Regions from separate parts of the Homo sapiens genome. Here region 2 is linked to region 1. Evidence: promoter capture Hi-C in 16 types of primary human blood cells and fetal thymus (Javierre and others, 2016). All regions are on one chromosome and are shown on one strand. The core of a region is centred on a gene start or on the middle of the fragment in contact, and the rest is flanking DNA. Distances in the headings are between cores, read along the strand shown. Region 1 holds the start of PPP2R3A (protein phosphatase 2 regulatory subunit B''alpha). Region 2 holds the start of NCK1-DT (NCK1 divergent transcript).

Region 1 (6,952 bases), core at 84-2,583:
TGCATGTGAAAGGGCTTTTGAAATGGAAAAGCAGTAGAAAGTTGAAAGTAAAATGGTCTCTTTCTCTCTAGGGCATCAAGGCATCTCACAGAGCACACTTTAGCTACTGGGAGGATTGACCTTGGGTGAAATTTCAGTATGTAAAGCTTGTTTGGGGTTATCTTACATAATTTTTTCTTTCCTTGTGCTATACACACACACACACATATATGTGCATATATGTACAATGCACATATATACACACACACATATGGCACCTAGTATATGCTTGGTGCTATGCTAGGTGCTGGGGAGACAGTGAGAACAACCCAGGTGCCCAGGACCTGTCCTCACAGCCCACCTAATCCTTTTAAGTCTTTACATACCTCCCATCCCCCACCCCCATGCTCCTTACTCATGGTATTCAACCCAACTGATTGACTTATTTATTGTTATTTATATGCTTATATATTTATAGATTTATCATTTTATCAAGATTTTTACGAAGATACTCAATTGGAGGTTCCTAATTCTGGAGAAATTTCCATTTTACAAATATATTCTTGGAGAGGGCATGATTATGGACCTGTCACATTTGAGTACTGTGGCAGTTAGAAGGAGGGCAATTTTGGGAGGCCCTTCCAGGCTATGTCCTTCCAGCTATTAATGAGGTTCTGTTTCAGAGCAGACCATATTACACGGTGTTATTAATAAATCTGGCGAGTGGTTATAAGGGTGTGTGTATCGGAATAATCCATTAAGCTGTACATTGGTTTTATATGGCTGTCTATATTTGTGTTTTATTTAACAGTAACAGTTAACAATAACAGTTAAAAATAAGTATCACTTCTTTTAAAATTCACACAACTTCTTGGGCTGAGTGAAATGTGGCGCAGGTGCAGGACTGTGGGAAGACAGGAGCGCCAGGGAATGTCTGGCCAGCAGCGCGCTGCCCTCAAGGGGCCTCCTTGAAGGCCCCTTGAAGAGGGCAACACAACTAATGACGATAACAATAACAACGATGACAATATTGACGATGACAATAACAGTAATAAATCCGAGCAAGAGACTCGAATCTGTCAAACAGCAGCGACCACCACGAATCGCATCCCCGCGGCGCCGCCATACAGGAGACTGCCCTCGCCGAGGCCACAGCGGCTCTCGCGGCGCCCCTGGAGGCCCCCTTCCTGCCTTGGCCAGAGGGGCGGGGCGTAGGCTGGGGGCGGGGCCGGAGAGTGGGCGGGGCCTGGCGCGTGGGCGGGGCTCCGGGCGGGCCGGCCGCCGAGGGTGGGGCCGAGGAGGAGGAGGAGGAGGAGGAGAAGGAGGTAGGGGCCTGCGGGTGGCTGGGCGGGGCGCGCTCGGGCCTCCGCTCTTCACGCGCCGCATTCGTAGCCCGAGAGTCCGCGCCGCGGGGAGGCTTGGAGGCAAGCGCTGCCCGCGAGCTGAGCCGCCGGAGGAGGAGCCGCGGGCAACGAGGTAGGCAAAGGAACACTGGCCGCACGGCCTGGAGCCTTCAGCTCCCTCGTCCCGGCCCGAGGGGGTGGCGAGGCTCGGGGCGGCGCGCGGAGGCCGGGGCGGGCGGGGCCGGGACCTGGGGGCGGGGACCGGCCTGGCCAGAGGGGCCACACGGAGCTGATTGGGCTGTGGAAGTCGGAATTCCAGTCGGTGCGGTGCGGTGCGGTGCGTTGCCTCGGCGCGGCCGGCCGGTCCCGGGACACGGCACCAGGGAGGTGTGGAAATTGCCTGCCCCAGGGGCGCCCGCGGAGGAGGGTAGGCGGGGGCGGCCTGGGCCCTCCCACTTTTCAGGGCTCCTGGGCCAGTTCGCCCGCACAGCCCTCGGGAACTTGTTAACAGGAAAGCCTGGCAGAGAAACAAATGCCAGCGTTTTGGAAGAACTGAGAGTCACGTCGTTAGGCGCTGAGGCTTTCTTTTCCTTCCCCGCCCCCTGCCCAACCTCGGCCCGACTTGGCCAAAGAAGGATGTGTCACCAGCTCCGGGCCGCGGACGGGATTCCCGGCCCGCCAGGAGCCGGGGTACCTGAAACAAAGGTAAACGGAGGCCGGGCGGCCCCTGGTCCTGCACCGCGGCCGCGCTGGAGCGCCTCGGTGGGTCTCTCCCGCGCCGACCTGGCCGCCGCCGCCGCGGAGGGGCGTTCTCCTGGGGGACCTCTCGATGGAAACCAGCTGGCCGGGCTTGGAGTTGATGTTGCATCCGAACTCTGTTGTGCTCCCGTTATTCCCAGTCCTCCCACTCTGGTAAAGCTTAAGGAAATTTTATCCAGTCTTGGTGGTCAGCAAATGTAGGGGAAGACAAATTATTGTTTGTAAATTATAAGGTATTTTCTAATTAGGAAATGGCCTGAAAACATTAAATTCTTAACACGTAAGCAAAAAAAGAGTAATTCCTTCCAACATCTGAGGAAGTATTCCTCCTCAAATCTTCATTTATGTACAAAACATCCCCCACACCTTTGGTGCCAGGCATTTTTCTTTGTTCTTCCTTAGTCTCAGGCCTTAGTTTCTTGTAAACAGAACCCAGCGCCTAGACCCTAAGAATTGCCATACTAGGTCAGAGCATGGGCGTCCAGTTCAGTAGGCAGCCGGCTTGTGTTGTAGTAAAACTGTTGTTTTTTTTTCTTGGTGGTATGTTAAAAATTATCTCAGTTTCTTTCAGTAGTCCATGAAAGCCTTTTAAAAATTTTCTAAGCCACTGCTAATTTACACACACAATTTATTTACATTTATTGCATCCAAATGGCCCTTTTATCACCTCTGGCAGAAGAACTTAATGGCATGAGATACTTGTGGAAAAAAACTTAGATCTTTTATACAATCTAGGAGCTCAGAAATCTAGGAGATTTCTAGGAGAACGGGGAAACAGATCAAAAAGGTTTTTAAAAAACAAAGCTTTGGGAAAGTGTTACTGGGGCCAATCTGGCTGTTGAGTTCAAAAATAGCTTTATGCACTGACAACCTGAACATTGAGCAGTTAAAGATTTATTTGTACTCATAAGTATTTGCATATTTTAAAATGTAGCTTAACATTCTGGAGAGTGAAGGGCCTATCTGACTTTATCTTGGGCTGAATTAATTTGGCCTTAATGTTCAGCTGAAACCAGCTACTCTGAGAGAATGGAAGTTTTGTTTCAGCGAGAAAGGAAAAAAGGAAATGAATAATTTTGGAGTATAGGGTACTTGGGGGCACCTGTTCAAATCATAACTTTGCTTTTAAACTCTTCAGAGACTCCTCCTTGCTCCTGACAAACATAGTCCCCACTGATCTGGCCCCTGTTACCTTTCAAACACACAGCTGAAGCTTCACCTCTGCCCTGAAGCTTTGCTTGACACCCCCCATCCCCCAAAAAGAAAACAGATATTTAAAAATCACCACCCTCAGAAGTGCAATTGACAGCTCTTTTGAGTGTTATCGTCCTCTGAGTCAGAGTTTCTCATTTGTAGTTCTGTTGACATTTTAGGCCAGGTAATTTCTAGTTGTGGAGGGCTATCATGTGCAGCGTAGGATGTTTAGCAGCATTTCTAACCTTTACTGAGGAATAGATACCAGTAGCACTCCACACACACAGTTGTGAACATCAAAAATGCTTACAGACATCGCAAATGTCCCCCAGGAGGACCAAAATCACCCTTAGTTAAGAACCACTGTTGTGAGCAGACTGCTGCCTTAACACTAGTGACGCAGCATTGTCCTCATTTGCTTAGGTGTTTACTATACTAAGCTTGAGGGCGGGAACAGTTATTTATTTAACAGATTTCTGAAGGCCTGTTTTGCCAACTGGACACTAGATTAGGTATGGAAATAGATTAGTAAAAACAACTTTGCATGCCTGGACCTTATAGTCTAAGGAGGGTGACAGATGTATACATGCATAAATATACATTTATCTCATTACGATTGTGTTAATTTCTGGGAGAAGTACAGGCAGCTCTGAGTGCATAAAACAGATGTCCTGATGTAGTTTGGAAACTGGGGAAAGTTTCCATGGGGAAGTGACCTTTGAGGTGGACGGTGAAGGATTAACAGGAGTTACTAGGTGAAGCTCACGGGAACAATATTCCGGGCAGAAGGAACAGATGTGAATACCTTGAGGAAGAAAGGAACAGGGCCGCTTTTGGGAACCCAGAAGCCAGGAACACGGAGAGTGATGACACAAAATGAAGCTAGGAAAATAGGCAAAGGCTGTCCACTAAGCAGTGGTTCTCAGTCCAACACTCTCATCAGAACCACCAGAACTTAAGACCGACGCCTGGGCCCTCCTCCAAGCAAATCAGAGCATTTTTGGTGGGTTCTGCTCCCTCCCCCAGCTACCATTTTCCCTGTCTTCCAAAGGAATAACCACTGATACTAGTTTTGTATATCATTGTAGACATTTTTTGTGGGCATTCAAGGAAATGCATATCTTTCCTCTTACTGTTTTACACAAATGGTAGCATACTGTACACTCTGTTTTCTTAAAAATGTCTTGGGAATCTTTCCACTTCAGTATATAGTTTCCTTATTTTTTTGAATGACTGTACAGTATTTCACTGTATGGATATACCATAGATTATTTAACCATTCCCCCACTGACAGACATTTAGATTGTTTCCAGTAATTTACCGTAAACAGTGCTACGAATATGCTGTTTCATATGTGAATAAATATATTTATAGGGTAAATTCCTAGAAATGGAATTGTTGGGTGAAATAAACACACAAACACATATATTTACATAAGTATATATTTATGTAATGCGTGTATATGTGTATATATTTGTAATTATTTGTGATTATAAAATATTCTGGTCATATTAGAATGCTTTGGAAGGAAACAAGATTGAGTGTGGGAGACAGCTGCCCCTAATTAAGGTTACTGTGGATAACATAGGAGAGAAAAGGTGGTGGCTGAGAGAAAAGAATGGTCGTATTGGAGATGGAGAGAAGTACATATATTCATGAGATATATTTAGGAGGCGTAATTGATAGGATTTGGTGGTTGATATGGTACAAGGGTTGAGAGGGAGAAATGAGATCCTAAGATGACTCCCAGGGTTCTAGCTTGCCCAACCAGTGAATGGTGGTGGTGTTACCTGAAGTAAAGAACATTTAAGGATAAATAGTTTTGAGATGAGTTTAAATCACAGTTTACATTGGGACTGCTGAGATTTTCAAGTGAGAGGTCACATAAGCATTTGACAATTCTAATTCAGAGCCAAGAGCAGAGGGCTAAACTGGAGGCACGAATTTTTAGGTGTAAATTAAAGGCTGTGGATGAAATTATCTAGGGCAGTGGTTGCAAAGCAGTAGCCTACAGCTGAATCTGACTCACAGATGTTTTGCCCATACAGTGGTTTTGTTATTGTTTAATTTTGAATTAGTTGCCAATATTTTAAAATCTGAAGATTTCTCATGAAAAATCCAGATTTGGGGTTTCTCTTTAAAAATGAGAAAATGTAGCACTACTGAGTTGGTTTTCCAATATGGCAGCAATAATTGGAGCTAAGTCACAGATGATCGCAGCTCTTCTATTTCACTACAGAGCCCACCACTCCCTAAAATTATGCCTGGCCCACTTTGCTCATTTATTTCTCTGACTGTAGGCTTTTGAGCATGTGATCCCTGGTCTGGGAAGAGAGCATAGAACAGTGTTCTCATCTTGGTTGCACATTGGAATCACTGAATGATTAAAAAATGCTAATGCTGTGGTCCACCTAAGAAATTTCTTTTTCTGTTTACTTGATCTGATTTGCTGCCTTGGACGAATCTGAGGTGATTCCACTTAGCTGTGGAAGTTGAGAACCACTGACAGAGATTAAGAAAAAAGGGCTCAGGCCCAGCATTTTGAAGTTTAGTAGAGGAGGATAGCCCAGGAAGAGAATGAGAAGTGGCCACAGAGGTACAGTGGAATGACGCCTTGCTCAGAATTAAAGTGTGCAAACTTAACTGAATGCGCTCTACCATGTTTTTTATTAAATGAGAGAGAGAAAAGTTTTATTTACTTGTATACAGGTGTGCGATATTTAACGGGCCATTTAAAGGATTTTCAAGAGTAATTTAAACAATATTTGGTTTTTGTCTTAGCTGTTTCCTTCACAATCTAATTCTAGTTTAAGATGCATCATAAAAGGTGAGAGAAGAATGTTTCAAATAGAGAGGTGTCATCAAGTAAAGATGTGGAACAAAAATGATCTGTTGAATTTAGCAAGATGGAGTCTTTGACCTCAGCAAGAACCATTTTAGATTGGAAGAGGCAGAAACCAAAATGAAGTGGGTAAAAAGTAAGGAAATGGGAGTGGCAAGTGTTGGAAATTCCTTTGAGAAGCTTGCCCAAAAAGAGGAAGTGGTGAGGGAGGATGAGGTGTCTTACATGCCTACAATGTAGGTGTTAGTCTGTTGGTTACTCAAACATTTCTCCTAACTTTTTAGGGATGTAGGTCAATGGTGTCTGATTACCCCTCTCCCACGTTCTTAGGGGTCTTGTTTTGGAGACTACTTTTTACTGAGAAGAAATTTTGCCAGGACTGTTGAAGGGGCTGACTCAGATGTTGGTGATTAGGCCACAAGTTTCTTTCTCAACTGGAAAGCTGTAGAGCTCCTAAAGGCCAGTGGTGATCTGGGCTCCAGTGACCCTGACATCATCCTCCCATTGAGCTGATGAACAAAGACTATATTGTTGGTATGCTGAAAATGGAATACTTGGCTATGTTAGGGAATGTGTATCTAACTGTGAGATTCCCAGGAATAGTTTTTGCAGCTGTATTTTTTCCAATTAACTTGATATTATAGCTTAATTTTCCAGTTGCATGCATGTAAAAACTCTCATACTTTGAAGTATTTATCATTGATGGTACCTGAGGGATATGGATGTAAGTTGGAGATGTAGGCCCTCATTGAGCTCAGAAAGAAGAAAGCACTGAGCAAACTGGTTTCCAAAAAGTTGTGTGAAGGCTTCTACCTCGAAGACTTGGTGTTAGAGT
Region 2 (6,739 bases), core at 1,550-4,049, 890 kb after region 1:
AAAAGGCATAAGACATACAAGAAAACAATGATAAGAATTACAACTAGTTTCTCACAGATATAATGGAGGCTGGAAAACGAGAATGACATCTTTAAAGTGCTGAAAACAAAAACAAAAACCCTTTGAATGGCTTCTCATTGCCTATAGGATAAACTCTAAGGTGCCTGACTTCCATAACCTGGTTATTGATTATATTTCTAGCTATCTTCTGCTCTAGCAATATTCTACTATCGTTTAATACCTTTTTATTATGCAGGCTCCTCTATGTGGACAGATTTTTTCTAGTTAATTGCCTGACTAACCTGGCCACACAACTCCTTTCCCCTGTGGCTTAATGTCCTCCTTGCACTGGACTGTCTATAACAATTTCTAACTATAAGCTATCAGGTTTCTGGGAAAGGTCTTGACATGGAGGCTCATTTTTCCCTTTCTTGTGTTCCCAAATTCTTTTATTTTGGATTAATAAAGTAAGCCACCTGCGTGTTTTTAATCATAGACAGATTAGCTGCCCATATCCAAAGCTCCACGTGTAGTCCCTAGATAAGTTTTGTTTTTGTTTTGAGATGTGGTGTGATCATAGCTCATTGCAGCCTCAAATTCCTGGGCTCAAGCCATCCTCCCACCTCAGCCTCCAGAGTGGCTGGGACTACAGGCACATGCCACTATGCCCAGCTGATTAAAAAAAATTTTGTTTTGTAGAGACAGGGTCTAGCTCTGTTGCCAGGGCTGATCATAAGTTTTGACTTACATTTTCTTGTTGCCTGATTCTGGTTAGTCCCTGATCCACTCAGCACTAATTAGCAAGGATGATTCCTGTTTTTGGTTTGAGTTCCCCTGAAAGAGAGGAAGCAGCAGCCATGTGCATGTTTATATTTGGAAGCTGGGGAGACAGACTGTGTGAAAGGAAGTCTCTGGGACAGCTCCCACCCCATTAAAACATGTACTGCATCCCTTCTAAGTGCAATTACATACATGCCTTTCTGCCTATCTGCCCTTCCAGTCTATGCTTTCCTTTTTCATTGCTGTTTGCTTATTTTTCTTCTTTGACTCCTCTTTTGCATATATTTTTGGAGGTTTCTTAAATTTTTTTAAAGAGTTCCTGTTAAGAATGAGTGATGAGAAAGATTAAAGAAGGAAAATTAAGAGGATAAACTAGCTGGGTGCTGTGGCTCACGCCTGTAATCCCAACACTTTGGGAGGCTGAGGTGGGTGGATCACCTGAGGTCAGGGGTTTGAGACAAGCCTGGCCAACATTGTGAAACCCCGTCTCTACTAAAAATACAAAAAATTAGCCAGGTGTGGTGGTGTGTGCCTGTAGTCCCAGCAACTTGGGAGGCTGAGGCAGGAGAATTGCTTGAACCCGGGAGGTGGAGGTTGCAATAAGCTGAGGTGGTGCCACTGCACTCCAACCTGGGCAAAAAAGCGAGACTCCATCTCAAAAAACAAACAAACAAACAAAAACCCTAAATGTATGACTTCAGCATACTTTTTGCTGGGTTAATTTTCCCCACTTAAGGTGGTGGTAAGCTACATGAAGGCAAGAACTGTATTTCTGTATTTTACCTGTTGTATTTATATTCACACCTTCTGCCTCCATCGTATGTTAAATATGTAATTAGAATTAAAATTGAGTCACGCTGTGCTAACAGTTTGATGGGTGATTTTGCAGCAACAGTTTTAACTCTGGACAAGTTTCTTCAAAAATGAATATAATATCTCAGTCTGTAAACTTTATAAAATGTATCAACAAATAAAACCATTGTATTAGCTTGGGCTGCCATAATAAAATACTAGATTGGGTGGCTTACACAACAGAAGTTTATTTTTTCAAAGTTATGTAGGTTGGGAGGTCCAAAAGAGGGTGCCAGCATGGTCAGTTTTGGGTGAGGGCTCTCTCTCTGGCTTGCAGATGTCTGTCTGCTTGCTGTGTTCTCAAATGGAGAGAGCTCTCTGGTGCCACTTTCTATAAAGACATTAATCTTATGGGATTAGGGCCCCACCCTTATGACCTAATTTAATTTTTATTACCTCCCTAAAGGCCTAGCTCCAACTAGAGATGGTCCCTGACTTAAGATTTTTTTGACTTTATGATGGTCCAAAAGCCATATGCACTCTAGAATCTGTACTTTGAGTACCCATAAAACCATCCAGTTTTTCATTCAGTATTTAGTAGATTACATGAAATACTCAATACTTTATTAAAAAATAAGCTTTGTATTAGATGATTTTGCCTAACTGAAAGCTAATGTAAGTATTCTGAGCATGTTTTAGGTAGGCTACTCTAAGCTATGATGTTTGGTAGGTTAGAAGCATTAAATGCATTTCTGACTTAAGATCTTTTCAACTTAAGGTATTTTCAGTTTATGGTGGGTTTATTGGAACATAACCCCTTTGTAAGTTAAGGAACATTTATATAGTCACATTAGGAGTGAGGGCTTCAGTATGAATTTTTGGGGGGGATGCAATTCAGTCCATACCAGTCATGATAAAATATGCAGTTATTTAAACCCTTAGAATAAACTCAAAATTCACCGCCATTATTCACTTTGGATGCTAATAACAGAATGTAGACATAGAGTAGCTGTTGCCCAGTTTCATGGTCTACTTGTCCCAGTCAACCTGAGGATAGTACAGCATAAATAGGTAAATTTGTGCTTGACCTTGTGATCCTACATATGGCAGGCTGTCTTAGTCCCTTTAGTGTTGCTAGAAAGGAATACCCAAAGCTGGATAATTTAGAAATAGAAAAGGTTTTTCGGCTTATGGTTCTGATGTCTGGAAAAGTTCAAGACTGAGCATCTGCATCTGATGGTAGCCTAAGACTGCTTCTACTCATGCCAGAAGGCAAAGGAGAGCTGGTGTGTGCAGAGATTACATGGCCAGAGAGGACGCAAAAGAAGAAAGGAAGTGCGACGTTCTTTTTAACCAGCTCTGGTGGAAATAAAGAGAACTCATTTACCCTCTCCCCAGGGAGGACATTAATCTATTCCTGAAGGAACCACCTCCATGACCCAACACTGCCCATTAGTCCCCACCTCCAACATTGGGGATCAAATTTCAACAGGAGGTTTAGGGGAACAAACATCTAAATTACAGCACAGGCCAACCACATGCATGCATTACCAATCACGTAAATAATTTTGAAGTTAAATGCAGAAAACTGCAAACTTTTGAGGCTGATATCCAGGGCCAGGATTAAAATAAAAAGTATTAATGCCTTAAACAGTATTTACTGACCATCTACCCTACTGCAAGGCCCTAGGGAGAAACTGAACAGACATGGTTACTGATTCAACGGAGTTTACAATCTAGGTAGACATACAGGCAAACCATTTCAATAGCTCGGATGGAGAAAACACCTGTGCTCCAAGGAAGGTACCTAACTGAGCAAGCTTCCCTGAGGAGCGATCCTAAACTGTGCCACAAAGATGGTTAAGAAGAGATGAGGCGGCTGGGCGTGGTGGCTCACGCCTGTAATCCCAGCACTTTGGGAGGCCGAGGCTGGCGAATCACGAGGTCAAGAGATCGAGACCATCCTGGTGAAACCCCGTCACTGCTAAAAATACAAAAACATTAGCTGGGCGTGGTGGTACATGCCTGTAATCCCAGCTACTCGGGAGGCTGAGGCAGGAGAATAGCTTGAACCCGGAGGCGGAGGTTGCAGTGAGCCGAGATCGTGCCACTGCACTCCACCCTGGCGACAGAGCGAAACTCGTTTCAAAAAAAAAAAAAAAAGAGGCAGGTTACGGCGCGGGGGCGGGGAAGGGGGCCTGCAGCACCGGCGAGGGGAAGAACCAACTTACTGATGCCTCAGCCAGTGGCTGGAGCCCTAAGAATGGACAGACCTGGCTCCGAAGGTCCTCTTCATAACACTACTGCCGCCAAGAATGTAAGCTGCCCAAGCACGAGGACACTTTTAGAGGGCCCTCAGACTCAGCTTCTTTTGGTCTGTGCCTCAAATTAAGCACATGTCTTACATTTCTCCCAGGTCCCAATTTTCAGGTCTGCTTTTCTTTGTTTTTCTTTGTCGCTCCCCGCTCCTAAGAACCTTCGGCTGGGATGACATTCTTCAGGTGCAGAAACCAGGGGGAAGCTCCCAGAGCAGTGGGGGCTGAACTCAGGACACAGTCATTTTTGCTGTTAAGTCTCTCCTGCGGCGCTGAGGAGGCAGGCTCAAAGTAACCAACCAGAGCAGCCGCAGAGGGAAAAGCTAAGACAGTTCTGGTCCGGCCCAGCGCTTCTCACCCTCTAGCTCTCTACTCTCCGCCGCGCAGCCTCCGCTCCCTCCACATCAGGCACGGCGCTTGATTGACATGAGGGCCCGCCCAATCCCAGTGCGGCAGAGACCGTTGTCGCGTCAGGGACCGGGGAAGGGGGCGACTGAACCTATCAGATTGGGTCCAGAGTGGGTTTCCTGCCCGCGCGGATCCGCCTGCCCACCGCGCGTGCCCCGCCTCTCTCCCAAGAGCTACGCGGCGGCGGCGGAGCGCAGGCCTCGTGCCGTTACGGCCATCACGGCGGCCGCAGTGGCGTCCTGGAGCCCTCCTCAGGTGAGCTGGAGCTGCCCGGCTCGGCAGCGGGAAGGTGAGACGGCCTTGTTGGCAGGCAGACACACACACACCCCCCTTCAGTCCGCTGTCCGTCCATACAGCCTGTTACTCGCTGCGTCGCTTCCTCTTCTCGCGCTGAGTTAGCCCCGGGGGCGCCGTCTGCAGGCTCGGAGCCGAGCCGGAGGGGGCGCGGAGGCTGCTCGGAGGGTCCAGACTTCTGCACCGGGATTCCGCGAGACCCTCGGGCCGTTGCCCCAGGGAGCGTGACCCCGCGGCCTCCTTGTCAGCCCCTGGAGCGCTGTGTCGGGCTGAGAGCCCGGGCGGCCGCCCGTGCGAGCCTGGGAGGTCGAGTGTGCGGCGCGCTGGTTGACTTGTCTGTTTTCTCATGAAAAAGTCCTTTTGCCAGCTGTGGCGTAATCCGAGGCCGGGAAGGTAGGGACGTGGTAGGAGGAAGGGCGCTCTCACCTCCAGCCCGAGAGGAGGGGAGGCGTCAGCCTGCGCGGTGCTGCGGGTGGACATCTTCGGGACGCGCCCTCTCCCCTCCCCCCACCCACCGGCCGTTTTCTAGTCTGGGGCTGTGACTTTAATGGTCTGGACCTGCTTCAGATTCGTACGCGAGTTGCTGGGGCTGTGAACTTTTGACTTGAGTTGTAATATGTTTGGTAAAACAAAAAACCATTTCGATAGGTTTTGTAACCTTTCTTCTGTATTAACATACAAGTTAAATTCGCCGTTAGAAGCTCAGGAAGCTGGGTTTTGTTCAGGGGTGAGGACGTAACCGTAGGAACGCTCTCGGTGTCAAACTGATGGACCCGGAGTCACCTGAAAATAATTATGCACGTTAGATTAGGTAAGAAGCCCTAGAAATTAGGAAAGAATTAGGTTAAAGAGAATTTCCTAACTCCTCTTTGGGTAGGGAGCAAAGCAGCTCAATGTCCTCCCAAAACGGGTGTTGCCAAAAGGTACTCATTTTTAAAATTTTACTTTGATAGACGTATGACAAACCAACTATAACGATTTCTTCAGCACCTGGAAACCAGTGTGCCTAGACTCTCAGCCTTCGGCGAGGTCACACAGTAAACGGAGAAATAACCTAAGAAGAAAGTTTTGTTTGGTAATTGTCAATAATATTCGTTCTTTTCTTTTTAAAACACTTAATTTTCTTGTGGGGGGTGGAGTCTGTGATATTCTTAAATAGGCATCCCATTCACAACTTGATAGTAATATGCACTGGTTGATAAATGGTGCTTTCTTTTCATCTTGACCACAAACTCTGAGACTTCTTTGGGAAAATTGTGATCTGTGGAAATTGGCTGTAATATCCATAAACATAGTTTGCAGAGTGTTCACATCTACTCAGCTGTTGGCTCATGTATTAAATTTTAAAATGTGTACTTATTTTTCTAGGCATTATCTTTTGTCCAGGTTTTGACAGTGCTTTCAGGTCCATCTAAATAAAATTTGAAACCTACGTGTAATGTTTTGTTCGATACTGAGGGAGTCCAGGCGGGGTAGCTCAAACCTGTAATCCCAGCACTTTGGGAGGCTGAGGCGGGCGGATCACGAGGTCAGGAGATTGAAACCACCCTAGCAGACACGGTGAAACCCCGTCTCTACTAAAAATACAAAAAAGTAGCCGGGCGTGGTGGCGGGCGCCTATAGTCCCAGCTACTCGGGAGGCTGAGGCAGGAGAATGGCGTGAACCCGGGAGGCGGAGCTTGCAGTGAGCCGAGATCGCGCCACTGCACTCCAGCCTGGGCGACAGAGCGAGACTCCGTCTCAAAAAAATAAATAAAATGTGTATTTATTTTTCTAGGCATTATCCTTTGTCCAGGTTTCTGCAGTGCTTTCAGGTCCATCTAAATAAAATTTGAAACCTACGTGTAATGTTGGCCGGGCTCGGTGGCTCACGCCTGTAATCCCAGCACTTTGGGAGGCCGAGGCAGGCGGATCACGAGGTCAGGAGATCGAGACCAGCCTGGCCAACACGGTGAAACCGCGTCTCTACTGAAAATACAAAAATTATCCGGGCGTGGTGGCACGCACCTGTAATCCCAGCTACTCGGGAGTCTGAGGCAGGAGAATTGCATGAACCCGGGAGTCGGAGGTTGCAGTGAGCCAAGATCGCCACTGCACTCCAGCCTGGCAACAGAGCAAGATTCCGTCACACACACACAAAAAAAAAACAG

The links. Contacts are between HindIII fragments. The CHiCAGO score rates a contact against its expected background, and 5 or more counts as called.
Region 2: a contact is called between a fragment that was not itself captured here and the fragment with the promoter of PPP2R3A in region 1, in 1 of 17 cell types (fetal thymus). The highest score is 5.2, in fetal thymus.

What each region holds. Positions count from the first base shown.
Region 1 is chr3:135,964,395-135,971,346 of GRCh38, forward strand. It overlaps PPP2R3A (protein phosphatase 2 regulatory subunit B''alpha), which reads left to right and starts at 1,334. Exons shown (of 14, transcript NM_002718.5): 1 at 1,334-1,455. RefSeq lists an enhancer at 908-1,726 and silencers at 1,171-1,400, 1,531-1,810. The HindIII fragment of the contact is 2,094 bases long and covers 145-2,238 here.
Region 2 is chr3:136,857,770-136,864,508 of GRCh38, forward strand. NCK1-DT (NCK1 divergent transcript) reads right to left here and starts at 4,294. Exons shown (of 3, transcript NR_110177.1): 1 at 3,978-4,294. It overlaps NCK1 (NCK adaptor protein 1), which reads left to right and starts at 4,439. Exons shown (of 4, transcript NM_001291999.2): 1 at 4,439-4,584. RefSeq lists enhancers at 3,368-3,417, 3,978-4,037, 5,098-5,177, 5,188-5,307 and a silencer at 4,398-4,457. The HindIII fragment of the contact is 1,182 bases long and covers 2,209-3,390 here.